2 separate regions of the Homo sapiens genome follow, and region 2 is linked to region 1. Evidence: promoter capture Hi-C in 16 types of primary human blood cells and fetal thymus (Javierre and others, 2016). All regions are on one chromosome and are shown on one strand. The core of a region is centred on a gene start or on the middle of the fragment in contact, and the rest is flanking DNA. Distances in the headings are between cores, read along the strand shown.

Region 1 (7,014 bases), core at 3,713-6,212:
GTTTCAATCTTAAATTAAGAATGACTATTACAGTAACTTGCAAATATTTTATAAATATGTATGGTTAAATAGGAATTGTGTTATGAGTTTTAATTTTTAAATAAAATGTAATTTTATTTACCTTCTTTTACACGAATTGTAAATGGAACAATCAGTAAACACAAAACAGTAACTATTTTAAAACTAAAATGATTAAATACAATAATATAACTAAGAATAAGAGTCTGATTTTGAGAGCCATAACAAATTAAAATATCAGAAGTTTAAATCTGTGCTTTTTAGCAATTAAAATCTGTGAGTAAAAGCAATGGAGAAAGGTTAATTAGACACTCAGAATCCCTAACTGCATTAACTTTTGAATGTTCTGTATAACTTTCAGGTATTTTGTAAACAGAGCATAGACTGTAATTTTATTATGATACATGATGCAAATCAAATCATTCCTACCTAGATATTACCATAGCGAGAAAAACCATTTCCCTTTCCTTGACTTCTTCCTGTTTACCACTACTTTTCTCCTTAGAATATAGAAAAAAAAGGACTGAAACATAATGTGGGTGGGTAATCTAGTTCTTTTTTATTTCTCTTGTAGTTTTAGAAATCATGAGAAAGTGAGGAACGTAAGTTAAAGGACAAGAAACAAAAAACTAATCTCTCTGGTGTCTCACATTAACCCCATTCTTGGAATCTATACTATGTGGACCCCAAGTTGCTAAGGCTGGGAACTCCTTGTTCTTCAGTAATTAACCTCCATGGAAGTGATCAAAGCCTTATTAAGAATAAGACTGTATGAAGGCTTTCAGTGCACATCTGCTCATGCAAGAAAACTGTAAGACCAATTTCCAAAAGTCATACAACACTATCTCATAGCTACATCAGTTTTGTTGTTAGACTATTAAGTAGCACATCAGTAAATGCCAACTCCTAGTAAAACTTAAAACAAAAGTCAACCAAAAAATAATCTTACTACAAATTGCTACCTTTCTCTTATATAGTAAGAGGGAAAATTAAGCTCTAAACATAATGAAAATCTAAAAATAGAGAACAGCAACTTCATATACTTGTCGCTCTCTTTAAAATATTTTCCCTATTACACATCTGGAAAGTCCTTCAAAAATGTAGTCACTTCACCATGAGTTTGATTAACAGAGTACCAAAGTAATTTGTTTTACTGCAAAATCAAGGAATGATAAGGAGGTAAATTTAATTCAGTAAGAAAATTTGTCCTTCTTGTTATATACATGCAAGAATAGTAAGTCATATAAAACTTTTAATATTTTTGTTCCTGAACCAGTCACATTTTAAAGCTTTGATTTTTTTATCAGAAAGTAGAATACTTTGGTGTTGATAAAAATCAGATAAATGTTAAATCTTAATTTGTTAAGAAATAGCGTATGAGTTTCACAAAAGAAAATTTCTAACATACCAATTACATAAAACATTTTCACATAAAAGGTGATAGGAGCACTGTGGTCACAGCAGTGGTTCTCTACTGGGAGTGATTCAGGCAATTCTGGAAACGTTTTGGGTTGTCACAACTAGAGGCTATTGGTACCTAACGGGTGAAGACCAATAAACCTCCACGTGGTACAACATACAGGAAAGGTCCACAACAAATTTTCTGCCCCAAAAAGTCAATAGCACAGGGTTCAGAAACCCTAGTTTACAGTCTTCACTCCCTCATTTTATTTTATCCACATTGAGGAGCTCACCAAGACAGGGAAGGTGTCAATCAGAAACATAAAAAGCTTAGAAAAGTTCAATCTAGGTAACTTTACTATGTCTGTTTAGGAAATGTAATTTTCATCACACACACAGAGAGGAAGGAAGATATGGAGAGTACATTAGTAAGATGGAGATATTGGGCAATTTTTTATCTCCTCCCCAACTTGCTTCTGCCTTCAAGTTCTGTCTTTAATTTTCAGTTCAGATCCACAAATACCCAAATGTAGATGCAAAAACTCATTCCAAAACCTTTTGGAATTATTTCCACAACTACCAACCTTATTCCATTTGGTTCAATAAGAAATTTTTGATAACTAATTCTATGGTGTAGACAGAATATACTTTTTTTAATAGCAGTGTTTTCAAATGAAGTGGGTTGTAACTAAATTTTTTTTAAATGAACGCAACAGATAAAATCAGAGTGCATTCATATGATATATTGTTTTGTAAATTACTATTTTACGTTATCTATCCTTGGTAGCAATGCAAAACACATTACTCAGTATGAGGCACATGCAAAAGTTTCATTGACAGTGGTTGTTTAACCTAATAAGCGGTTTGTGTGTGTGTGTGTGTGTTTTTTTTTTTTAAAGGATACTATTGCTGCTCCAACATATTGAGCTGATTCCATGTGGTGATGTGTGTGGGTTGAATTTATCCACCAATGTCATAGATGAAGCATCCCATATTTTAATATCATCTCCTGATGAAGCAAATCTGAGGTTTTCCTGCATGACTGCGCCTACAAATAGTTTAAAACAATGTATTTTAAAAACATTTAAGAATAGACATACTCAAAAAAAGGTCAAAATCTAATCTAAAACAAGTGGCTCTAACTCATTCATTTTTGTTCCAAACAGTGCAGTCACCAAAGCAGTTGAAGTGATTTTCCTAAAACATAAGCCAGGTCGCATTCTCTTAGCTGACCCTTCCAATGGCTCCTCACAGTAATGATAATGAAATCCAGCCTCCTTAGCCTGCCTTACATGTCCTGGCCCCCATGTAACTCTCCTCTTTCTTTTCACTGGCCTTCTCTCTGCCTCATGCAAAGGCAAAGTCATTCTCACCTCAGTGTCTTTTCATTTGCTGCTCCCTGTGCCTAAGATGTTCTCCCCAGATTCCCATGGTCATCTCCTTCTCATCATTCAGGTCTTAGCTCAAATGTTTCCTCCTATGAAAGGCCTTTCCTGACCACCCTGGCTAACGCAGTCCCTTCCTTACCTGGTAAGGGACTTAGCAGTTTACCCTATATCCCAATACCTGATTTCATTTTTTTCATAGCACTTCCTAATATCTGAATTTTTTTTTTTTTTTTTTGAGACGGAGTTTCACTCTTGTTGTCCAGGCTGGAGTGCAATGGTGTGATCTCGGCTCACCACAACCTCCGCCTTCCAGGTTCAAGTGATTCTCCTGCCTCAGCCTCCCGAGTAGCTGGGATTACCGGCATGCACCACCACACCCGGCTAATTTTGTATTTTTAGTAGAGACGGGGTTTCTCCATGTTGGTCAGGCTGGTCTCGAACTCCTGACCTCAGGTGATCTGCCCGCCTCAGCCTCCCAAAGTGTTGGGACCACAGGCGTGAGCCACCGTGCCCAGCCACTATCTGAAATTTTTATTTGTTCTTATAATGTCTGTCTCCCCACACCAGAGTCTTGAAACATTCCTGGCACACAGCAGTTTCACAACAAATAACTACTAATAAGTAACTTCCTAATTTTTAAAAAAAGTATGATAAACTAGCATTTCTGCAGGTCAGAATCCAGTCACACCAGTTTTTCCAAAACTCTAAAATTAGCAATATGGTCAAATGAGACGCCACTAAGTCCCTATACCAATACTTGGACTACGATGCCTTCAATCATTTATTCAGAGCATACAGCTGAAACACGTAATTCTAACAAGGTGATTTCACAAACCAAGGAAGTCTAGAAAACAGAAGGCAAAGAAGCTGCTCTAGACAGGCACTTTAAAGAGCAACAGGTAGTAATGAACGATAAGTGAGAAAAAAAGATGCTCAAAAGTACATGGGAGAAAAGGAAAGGGAGAGGGCACAGAATTATACCTCCCACACCTTCCTAGTATGGAAAGTGCAAGACTACTGCACAGCATTAGTGATGTCACAGGCAGGTCCCCGAGTCACCAATACAACAGCACACCTACGTCTAGTATAAGCCATTTCAGAGGACAAGTTAAAGACAGAATTATAGAAACGTTTCATTCTCGAGACAAAAAGTTAATGTAATTCACTCATGTGCTTCCTTATGCTCCATTCATCCGATACAGTGCTACTAAAAGCCATTAAAGTCACCTGCAGAGATGTAACACAATGTTTGGATTTGGAGCCTTAAACATGTGTAACACGTGCCCCCTTGGTTCCCAAGTCAAGGAACAACTAATGAATTGCTGGAAAAGCGAGCTCTAAGCCCTGTAAACCACAACTGCAAGCTGTGTCTAACTGCATCGTAACCAGGCCTGGTGAGCTGCGGGGTGTAGTGGGTAGATCACTGAGGCCTGGGCTCAGAAAAACTGGGTTCAAACGACCTGCTCCAACTTAGGAAACACAACTCGCCGGGTGATTTAATGTTTGTTTTCGGCTCTTAAAGCGGGGCGGGGAAGAGGACCATCTGCCCACCTACCTCGGTCTTCTAAGAACTGAGCATTAAGGGAGAGACTTTACATGAGTCCCTCAAAGACGGTCCCGTCGAAAGCTAGCAGTCAGGACACAAGGCGGTAACGTCGGCCTGGGTTTAGGGACAGCGGCTACAGGAACCAATTCAACTACACCACTCAGCTGAAATGAAAGTTCTCCAACTTTCAATCACCAAAAATACACTTTACTTGCAGGACAACAGCTCAAGTGAGGCTAACCTGTAAAATGCATCCAAGTACCTGCCAAAAGAAAAGTACTTGAGGTTGACAAAAAAGGAGACAGACTTGTGGAGACGAGGCAAACTTTTCGGAGGCAGCACACCCCACAAGGCTCCGGGAGGTGCGCGACCCCGGCCCGCGCCTCCCCGGACACTTCCCAGCCCAGCGCGCCGCCGCGCCCCCGCCCAGCAACCGCTCCGGGCGCGCAAAGCCCAAGGACCGCCGCCCCGCCCTCTGAGGGGGACGGAGCGGGTCTTAGGATCGGGAGGGTGCGCGGACGCGGCGGGCGGGGGCCCGCTGACCTCAGGGCCTCCGGAACCTCACCTCTCCGCAGCAACACAACAGGGGGCCGCGGCCGGCTCCGCGCTGGGCTTCCGGCTCCCGCCTGGACTGTTAAACTTCGGCGGCCGGAAGTCCCGCCCCGAGTGACGTCACGGGGCGAGGCGCTGCGTGCGGCTGTGGCTTCTGGCCGGACAGAAGTCGGGGTACAGAGGGTCTGGTCAGGGCGGCGCTGGGCAGCCGCGGGGGAAGTTATCCCAGTGTCAGGGCGGGAACTGCGGGCCGGGGCGGCCCTCTCCACGCCCCAGCGACGGAGCTCCGGCCACTGCCAACTGCTTGTCATTCACTTGCTGTTTACTGTGTGCCAGGCACTGTGCTAGACTCTTGAGTGTACAGTGATGGTTTAGCCTGGGGATACAGGGGTACAGTGAATTCTCGTGGTCCTTGGCCTTGTGGAGCTTACAATGCACTATAGGAAGCTGACGTTATTAGATGCTTAAATGGAAAGTGAAACTATGATAATGAAAGGTATAAGATGCACGAAGACCCATAATAAGGGAAACTATTGTGGATGTGGATTTAGGAAAGGATTCCTACATGCGATTTACAAGCCAGGAAACGCGCTCAGGCTGAGAAATAACCCAAAGAGTAGGCGTCTGCACTAACCTACTTCAAAACCCATGATCTTTCTTTCGCATCATGCTGCGAGGTCCGGAACATCAAACATCATCTGTTTGGGAATTCTTTTGAAGGGGATACTTCAAGGTGGAAAAGGAAGTTGCTGAGCCGAGTTTTCAAGTGCCCCTTCCAAAGGTCCTTTTATAGCTCTACTGACAATTTTTGCTAAGAATATTTATCATAAATATAGAGCATTTCTTCTGCAAAAAGTGTTATTCTTTCATCACAACTACATGGGGTGTGTTTCTGAACTAGGTACATCAGCCCCAGTTATCTGCATTCATATTGCAGATAATTGGAAAATTCTAATAAGTGCATTTTTTCAGAGCAGAAATTGAAATCGTAGCCAAGTTACTGAGGTTCATGGGGGAGTGGCAAAAGGAGAAAGATAGCAAGCAGCAACTACCTTAATTGTACAGTCTGCAGTTCTTGAGGCTATGAAATCCAATTTGGGCAGGGAGGAGGCCCAGAAAGTTGGGAACTAAGAAAGTACGGTAAGGGAGTGGGGGCAGGGAGAATGGGAGCAAATGGAGAAAAGAAAACTTCAAACAAAAAGGGCAATTAATTAAATCTCTGAAAATTGAAGCCAGCAGGAAAATTGAGACTAGACTATATGAAAATATATATAATAATACATGTAATATAATATATACATATTATATGATATAATACTAGTTATACATATAAAAATAGATATTTATTGAACACTTTACTAAGCACTGTATTTGTGTATATAGACGTAATGTGTATGTATGCAATATATATATAATTTCATCTTTCTAAAAACACATGAAGTATGTGCTATTATTTGTCCCCATTTTACATATGAGGAAATAGAGGTTAAGTAACTTGTCCAAGGTTACAAGTTTAATAAATGGTAGATTCAGAAGTTAAACCTGGGACCATGAGACTGCAAAGACTGTCCCAGACCTTTATGCTATACAGTCAAGAGCCATAACACAGCGTATAGGGCCAAATGGAAACCTCCATTCCTCTGTCCTCACTGATGCTGCGGCCTCATCAAATCTTACTGGCCCTGAAACAGTCCTGTCATTTTTGTCCGTGCCTCTGTGCCTATGTATACACTGTTTCCTCAGTTCTGTATAATAGTTTAACGAACAATAGATGCCAAATGTTAGAAGCCTTGCTAATATATGAATTATATAAACATATACAGATTTCCAAAAGTAGCCATCACAACAAAGAATATTTCTAGAGACAAAGAGAAATATTTCATAATGATAAAATGGTAAATAACCACAAGCCATTATCAATTTTAAGTGTATAGGTGAACGTAAGAGAATTTTGAAATATATGAAGAATAAGTATCAAAGCTAAAGGAGGAAAAAAGCATACCCATAGTCATTGTTGGAGACTGACAGAATTTTCTCAGTAATTCATAGAACATCCAGATAAGAAAAACAAATCAGAAAAGATGTGGAAGATCTGTACACTTATCAACT
Region 2 (6,379 bases), core at 2,387-4,886, 190 kb after region 1:
AATGGAAGAACATTCCATGCTCATGGGTAGGAAGAATCAATATCGTGAAAATGGCCATACTGCCCAAGGTAATTTATAGATTCAATGCCATCCCCATCAAGCTACCAATGACTTTCTTCACAGAATTGGAAAAAATTACTTTAAAGTTCATATGGAACCAAAAAAGAGCCCGCATCGCCAAGTCAATCCTAAGTCAAAAGAACAAAGCTGGAGGCATCACGCTACCTGACTTCAAACTATACTACAAGGCTACAGTAACCAAAACAGCATGGTAGTGGTACCAAAACAGAGATATAGATCAATGGAACAGAACAGAGCCCTCAGAAATAACGCCACATATCTAAAACTATCTGATCTTTGACAAACCTGAGAAAAACAAGCAATGGGGAAAGGATTCCCTATTTAATAAATGGTGCTGGGAAAAATGGCTAGCTATATGGAGAAAGCTGAAACTGGATCCCTTCCTTACACCTTATACAAAAATTAATTCAAGATGGATTAAAGACTTAAACGTTAGACCTAAAACCATAAAAACCCTAGAAGAAAACCTAGGCATTACCATTCAGGAAATAGGCATGGGCAAGGACTTCATGTCTAAAATACCAATAGCAATGGCAACAAAAGCCAAAATTGACAAATGGGATCTAATTAAACTAAAGAGCTTCTGCACAGCAAAAGAAACTACCATCAGAGTGAACAGGCAACCTACAAAATGGAAGAAAATTTTCGCAACCTACTCATCTGACAAAGGGCTAATATCCAGAATCTACAATGAACTCAAACAAATTTACAAGAAAAAAACAAACAACCCCATCAAAAATGGGCAAAGGATATGAACAGACACTTCTCAAAAGAAGACATTTATGCAGCCAAAAGACACCTGAAAAAATGCTCATCATCACTGGCCATCAGAAAAATGCAAATCAAAACCACAATGAGATACCATCTCACACCAGTTAGAATGGCAATCATTAAAAAGTCAGGAAACAACAGGTGCTGGAGAGGATGTGGAGAAATAGGAACACTTTTACACTGTTGGTGGGACTGTAAACTAGTTCAACCATTGTGGAAGTCAGTGTGGCGATTCCTCAGGGATCTAGAACTAGAAATACCATTTGACCCAGCCATCCCATTACTGGGTATATACCCAAAGGACTATAAATCATGCTGCTATAAAGACACATGCACATGTATGTTTATTGCGGCACTATTCACAATAGCAAAGACTTGGAACCAACCCAAATGTCCATCAATGATAGACTGGATTAAGAAACTGGCACATATACACCATGGAATACTATGCAGCCATAAACATGATGAGATCATGTCCTTTGTAGGGACATGGATGAAATTGGAAGTCATCATTCTCAGTAAACTATTGCAAGGACAAAAAACCAAACACCGCATGTTCTCACTCATAGATGGGAACTGAACACTGAGAACACATGGACACAGGAAGGGGAACATCACACTCTGGGGACTGTTGTGGGGTGGGGGGAGGGGGGAGGGATAGCATTAGGAGATATACCTAATGCTAAATGACAAGTTAATGGGTGCAGCACACCAGCATGGCACATGTATACATATGTAACTAACCTGCACACTGTGCACATGTACCCTAAAACTTAAAGTATAATAATAATAATTTAAAAAAAGAAAAAAAAAAGAATCATCTTTATTTGTGGGCTCCAGTTTCTCTCTTCCCATTCTCTCATAAACAACTCTAAACATAATCTTTCCCAAGCATCTTCTAAAGTTACTCCTGTGAAGGTCACCATTGGCCTCCATGCTAAATCCAGGGGTCAACTCTCTATCCTTACCTTACTCAATCTATCAGAAGCTTGTGGCACAGTTGGTCACTCCATTCTCCTCAACCACTTTCTTCACTTGGCTTTCAGGGTTCCATAATCTCTTGGTTTTCTTCTATCTTACTGGTCACTTCTTCTCAGTCCCCTTTCTGGTTCCTCATTTTCTCCCCAGTCTCGTAAAGTTGGAGTACAAAACTCAGGGCTTGATCCTTGGTCCTTTTCTCTCTTCCATCTATTTATACCCCCTAACGGAGCTCATCCAGTATTAAAATTCTGTCTTTACTTTTTTTAGTTGTTATACTGTACTTTTAAATTTGTATTATTCTTATCATTGTATTTTTATTGATGCTTAATAGACATATATACTTCCAGGGTACATAAAATATTTTGATACATTACATAATGTGTAATAATTAAATAGCAGTGATTGGTATATCCATCACCTTACACATTTATCTTTTCTTTATGCTGGGAAGATTTGAATAACACTGTCTATATTCTAAAGACTCTCAGAATACTTGACATCTTCAATTGTACATCTAAGGGCATCTCAAACTACATACATCCAAATTTTAATTCCTGGTGTTTCCCCTAAATAAGCTGCACCCCTACAACCTCCCCATTTCAGTTAATGACCACTTCTTTTTTGACTCCTCTCTTTTTCTCACAACTTACATCCAATATCTGTAAAACAGAATGGCTCTACCTTCAAAATTTACTCAGAATCCAAATACTTCTCATTACCTCCAGTGCTATCACACTGGTAAGAAACACCACCATATTTCTGTTATTATAATAGCCTCCTTAATTCATCTCCTTGCTTTCACACCCTTTTCCTCTTATAATCAATTCTCACACTAGCAGCAAGAGCCAACCCTTTACAATGAAAATCAGATCATGTCACTCCTCTGCTCAAAACTCCACAATGACTCCCCACTTCACTCAAAGTCAGTCTTTACCCTGGCCAAAAGGTCTTATGTAATCTCCTTGTCCACCAGTTACCTCTTTGCCGATCTCCCTTGCAACTCTGCCCCTCACTCACTCCACCCCAGCCACAAGAGGCCTGGAGGTGTCCCTCAAACATGTATCAGGCATGTCTCCATGGCCTGTAACACTTTGTCTATAGATATTTGCATGGATAATTCTCTCATTTAAGTACTTTGTTCAGATGTCACCTCATCAATGAAGCCTGCCCTGACCACCCAAAATGTGGTTCAGATGTCACGACTGATCCCAGATACACACACGTCAAGAGGGTATGAAATGGGGTACTGCTCACATAAAGAGACCTTGCAAGAAGATCAGAGCAGGTTCCCAAACAGGTGGGAAAATGTATGGAGAAAGTAAGGAAAAGAGACTGGCTTGGAGTTTTATGGTGGTTGGTGGGTGGCACTGAGGTAAGAGTTCCTGCACATGGGCCAGGACTTACATGGTTTGAACTTTCCACTAACACCAAAGGAGGGAACAGATGGGCTTTCTTATCTGCTTGCTCAGGTCAGGGGCAGAAAGAGAAGGACAGTGGTCGGGCTTGAAAGCTGTCAGCCATTGAACATCAAAATGGAGTCACACTTATTACAACCACACGATTTTAAAATGGTAACTCGTCCCCCTCCAACCTCTACTCCTTATATTCTCCATAGCACTTATCATTTTTGCCCACACTCTGTAATTTACTTGTGTTTATAGTTTATTGCCAGCATGTTTATTATCTATTAGAATATAGGGCAAGATTTTGCACAATATTGTTATATATTTTGTTTAGACTGTATATATGAGTATTGGGCCACTGATACTTGCCAGGAGCTTAGAACAGTGCCTAGCATATTGAAAGTGCACAAACTTATTTTTTAAACGAATTAATGAATGATAAGAAATGTATGCATTATTAGATGAATCACTATTGAATGTGTCAGAGGACCTCATGATAGAAGTGTTTATCACAAATGGCATGGAGAAACTCTTGAATGTGGATGTCCATATTATTAAATATGAAAAAAGCGCTGTAATATTATTTTTACTACTCTACCTGACTGCTTATATATCTGTGAGCATATGGATACAGAAATTGTATTCTATGCATCTTTATATCTTCACTGCCTAGATCAGAGCCTGGCAGTGAGAGAGTTAACAGATACTGGTTGACTAAATAAATAAATCGATGAACAAACTAAATGAAAGAGCTGACACTAACAATTGCAGCACATTTAAATAATTAGCTACCTACAACAGTTTATTAAACAGTTCAGTGCAATATGATGCAGAAACTTACTTTTTCAAAATAGGTTTGTTTTTAATATTTTAAGTCAATGTTTTAGAAAAAAAGAAAACACTCCATAGCTTTTATTCGTAAAAAGGTTTAGTCTTTTTAAAAAGTAAATTAAATGTATAAAAAAATCAAAGCATTGTTAATTTGTTCATTCTATATATGAAATTAAACAACCCAGCTGTGTGCCTTCATAAAATAATTGCTTTATTGAGAACTGTAATTTTTTTTTTTTTTGAGACAGAGTCTTGCTCTGTCATCCAGGCTGGAGTACAGAGGGGCAATCTCAGCTCACTGCAACCTCTGCCTCCCGGGCTCAAGTGATTCTCCTGCCTTAGCCTCCCGAGTAGCTGGGATTACATGTGCCGCCACAAAGCCTGGTTAATTTTCATATTTTAGTAGAGACAGGGTTTCTTCGTGTTGGCCAGCCTGGTCTCCAACTCCTGGCCTCAAGTGATCTGCCCACCTCAGCCTCCCAAAGTGCTGGGATTACAGGCATGAGCCACCACACCCAGCCAGAGCTATAATTTTAAGTGAAATCATGTATGAAAACTTCCCTGAATAATAAAAAGCAAGCATACTATGGATATAGGAATTTCTAAAACTTACATAAAATTTAAGTCTATTTAATAAACTAGGGTGAAGGAACTCTCTTCAAAGGTATCCCTCCCCTGTGCATGGAGAGACGCACCTGTATGCCGCCCGGTGCCTCTGCAGAGCAACTGCAGCCAGCTGAAGCCGGGCCTCCACCACAATCTCCAGCTCGCCAGCGGAGCACTGAGACAGGGTCTTCTGTTCCACCTCGGACAGAAGGAAGTTTAGCCTGTCCTCAGCTTCCATCAGTAACATCGACTAAGGAAAGGATACCATACATCACGTGAGTTCAGAAATAATACAAATACTGTCTCTTTCTTCTTTAGCAAATATTTTTCATGTACTGAAAAGTAACAATGAATGGAAGACCAAAAAGGAACTTGGTATCTAATTACCAGAGAAGAGAGTTCAGCAAAAAGGAAAAAGGCAACAGAAAACGAAAAGGAAAGTGAAAGCAAGCGTCAGCATGCATGACAGTGACCTTTTCTTGTGTGCACAGCTGGTGCTTACTATTCACAGTAGTTATGTTCTATAAAGTTCTTGCAAACACTGATTACTGGATACTGAGCCATTGCTCCTAGGGGAGACATGGAGAAAAGTACCCGAGAGCCTCTGGTCACAACATTTTCATTAACTGCTCAATACACAGCCTCCTTGTTTAATGTGTGTTTATGGCTAAGGATATATAACAGTATATTTAATATATACTGTTAATTTGCTAACCTTGAACTCACAGCCAATAGCACTCACTTCTGAAGGAAGCTTATCTAACACACATAGCTTCTCCATAAGGGACACCACAGCCCTCTTAACTTAGAAATGCTCCACAGCACTTCAGCACTATGCTGGAGGGTCATTGTAAATATTGACAAAAATTCAAAAAGCATGGTACTAAATAGACCGTGAAAAGGACACTTGTTTACAGTATGAGAGTGGCAACAAAAAGTCAGAGCATCTCCTTGTTCAACTCAGCTGGGAATACGTGCATTGAGCAGCTCAAATTTTTCTGTGCTCTGCGTGTGTTCACGAATAGCCAACAGAGTGCCAAGAGTGTTGATTTTCAGGCTACAAATAAATTTCAGTAGATCTGCAAATTAGCAAACACAGAATCTGTGAATAATGTGGATCAACTGTATTTCAAGTTAAAGTATGGTCACCTAGTTGGTAATGTGAAGATAATGAGATTTTTACAGTAGACAATCAATAGTAAATAGCAGCCTAACATGGCAGAAGATAAAGGGACCAACCAATCTTTCAAGTGACAGGCCACTAAAAATGTATTTGTGCAGAGCAGTGAATATTATATAAATATTAGGGCAATTCAGTATAATGTTTAAGAACATGGATTTTGAATCAAAAAGATGTAGTCCTTCTCCTGGATCTATATTTTATTAGTTGTATGATATTAGTCAAATTCTTAGATGTCTAAGCCTCAGTTTTCTCATGGTTCAGCACAGCACAGTTCAAAATGATTACTACCTACATCATAAAGTTATAAAAATTAAATAATCATGCAAAAGCTGTTGATGCCATTGTCATCACTATTATTGGGAAATGATAAACGGGATGGAATACTCATATCCCACCAAATAATGAATCATGTTTCTTTGTTGTTTTTTTTTTTGAAATGGAGTTTCGCTCTTTTTGCCCAGAATAGAATGCAGTGGCGTGATATTGACTCACTGCAACCTCTGCCTCCTGGGTTCAAGCGATT

What was found. The method cuts DNA at HindIII sites, captures the fragments that hold promoters and counts their contacts. A CHiCAGO score of 5 or more calls a contact.
Region 2: a contact is called between a fragment that was not itself captured here and the fragment with the promoter of NEDD1 in region 1, in 1 of 17 cell types (endothelial precursors). The highest score is 5.6, in endothelial precursors.

The regions. Positions count from the first base shown.
Region 1 is chr12:96,905,205-96,912,218 of GRCh38, reverse strand. NEDD1 (NEDD1 gamma-tubulin ring complex targeting factor) reads right to left here and starts at 4,962. Exons shown (of 16, transcript NM_152905.4): 1 at 4,919-4,962; 2 at 4,363-4,615; 3 at 2,324-2,467. The coding sequence starts at 2,459. RefSeq lists enhancers at 4,140-4,279, 4,320-4,409 and a silencer at 4,650-4,929. The HindIII fragment of the contact is 8,934 bases long and covers 1,751-7,014 here.
Region 2 is chr12:96,718,949-96,725,327 of GRCh38, reverse strand. It overlaps CFAP54 (cilia and flagella associated protein 54), which reads right to left. Exons shown (of 68, transcript NM_001306084.2): 50 at 4,763-4,923. Among named protein-coding and RNA genes, the nearest start is that of NEDD1, 190 kb to the left of the region's middle. RefSeq lists enhancers at 4,883-4,992, 5,013-5,192. The HindIII fragment of the contact is 3,587 bases long and covers 1,843-5,429 here.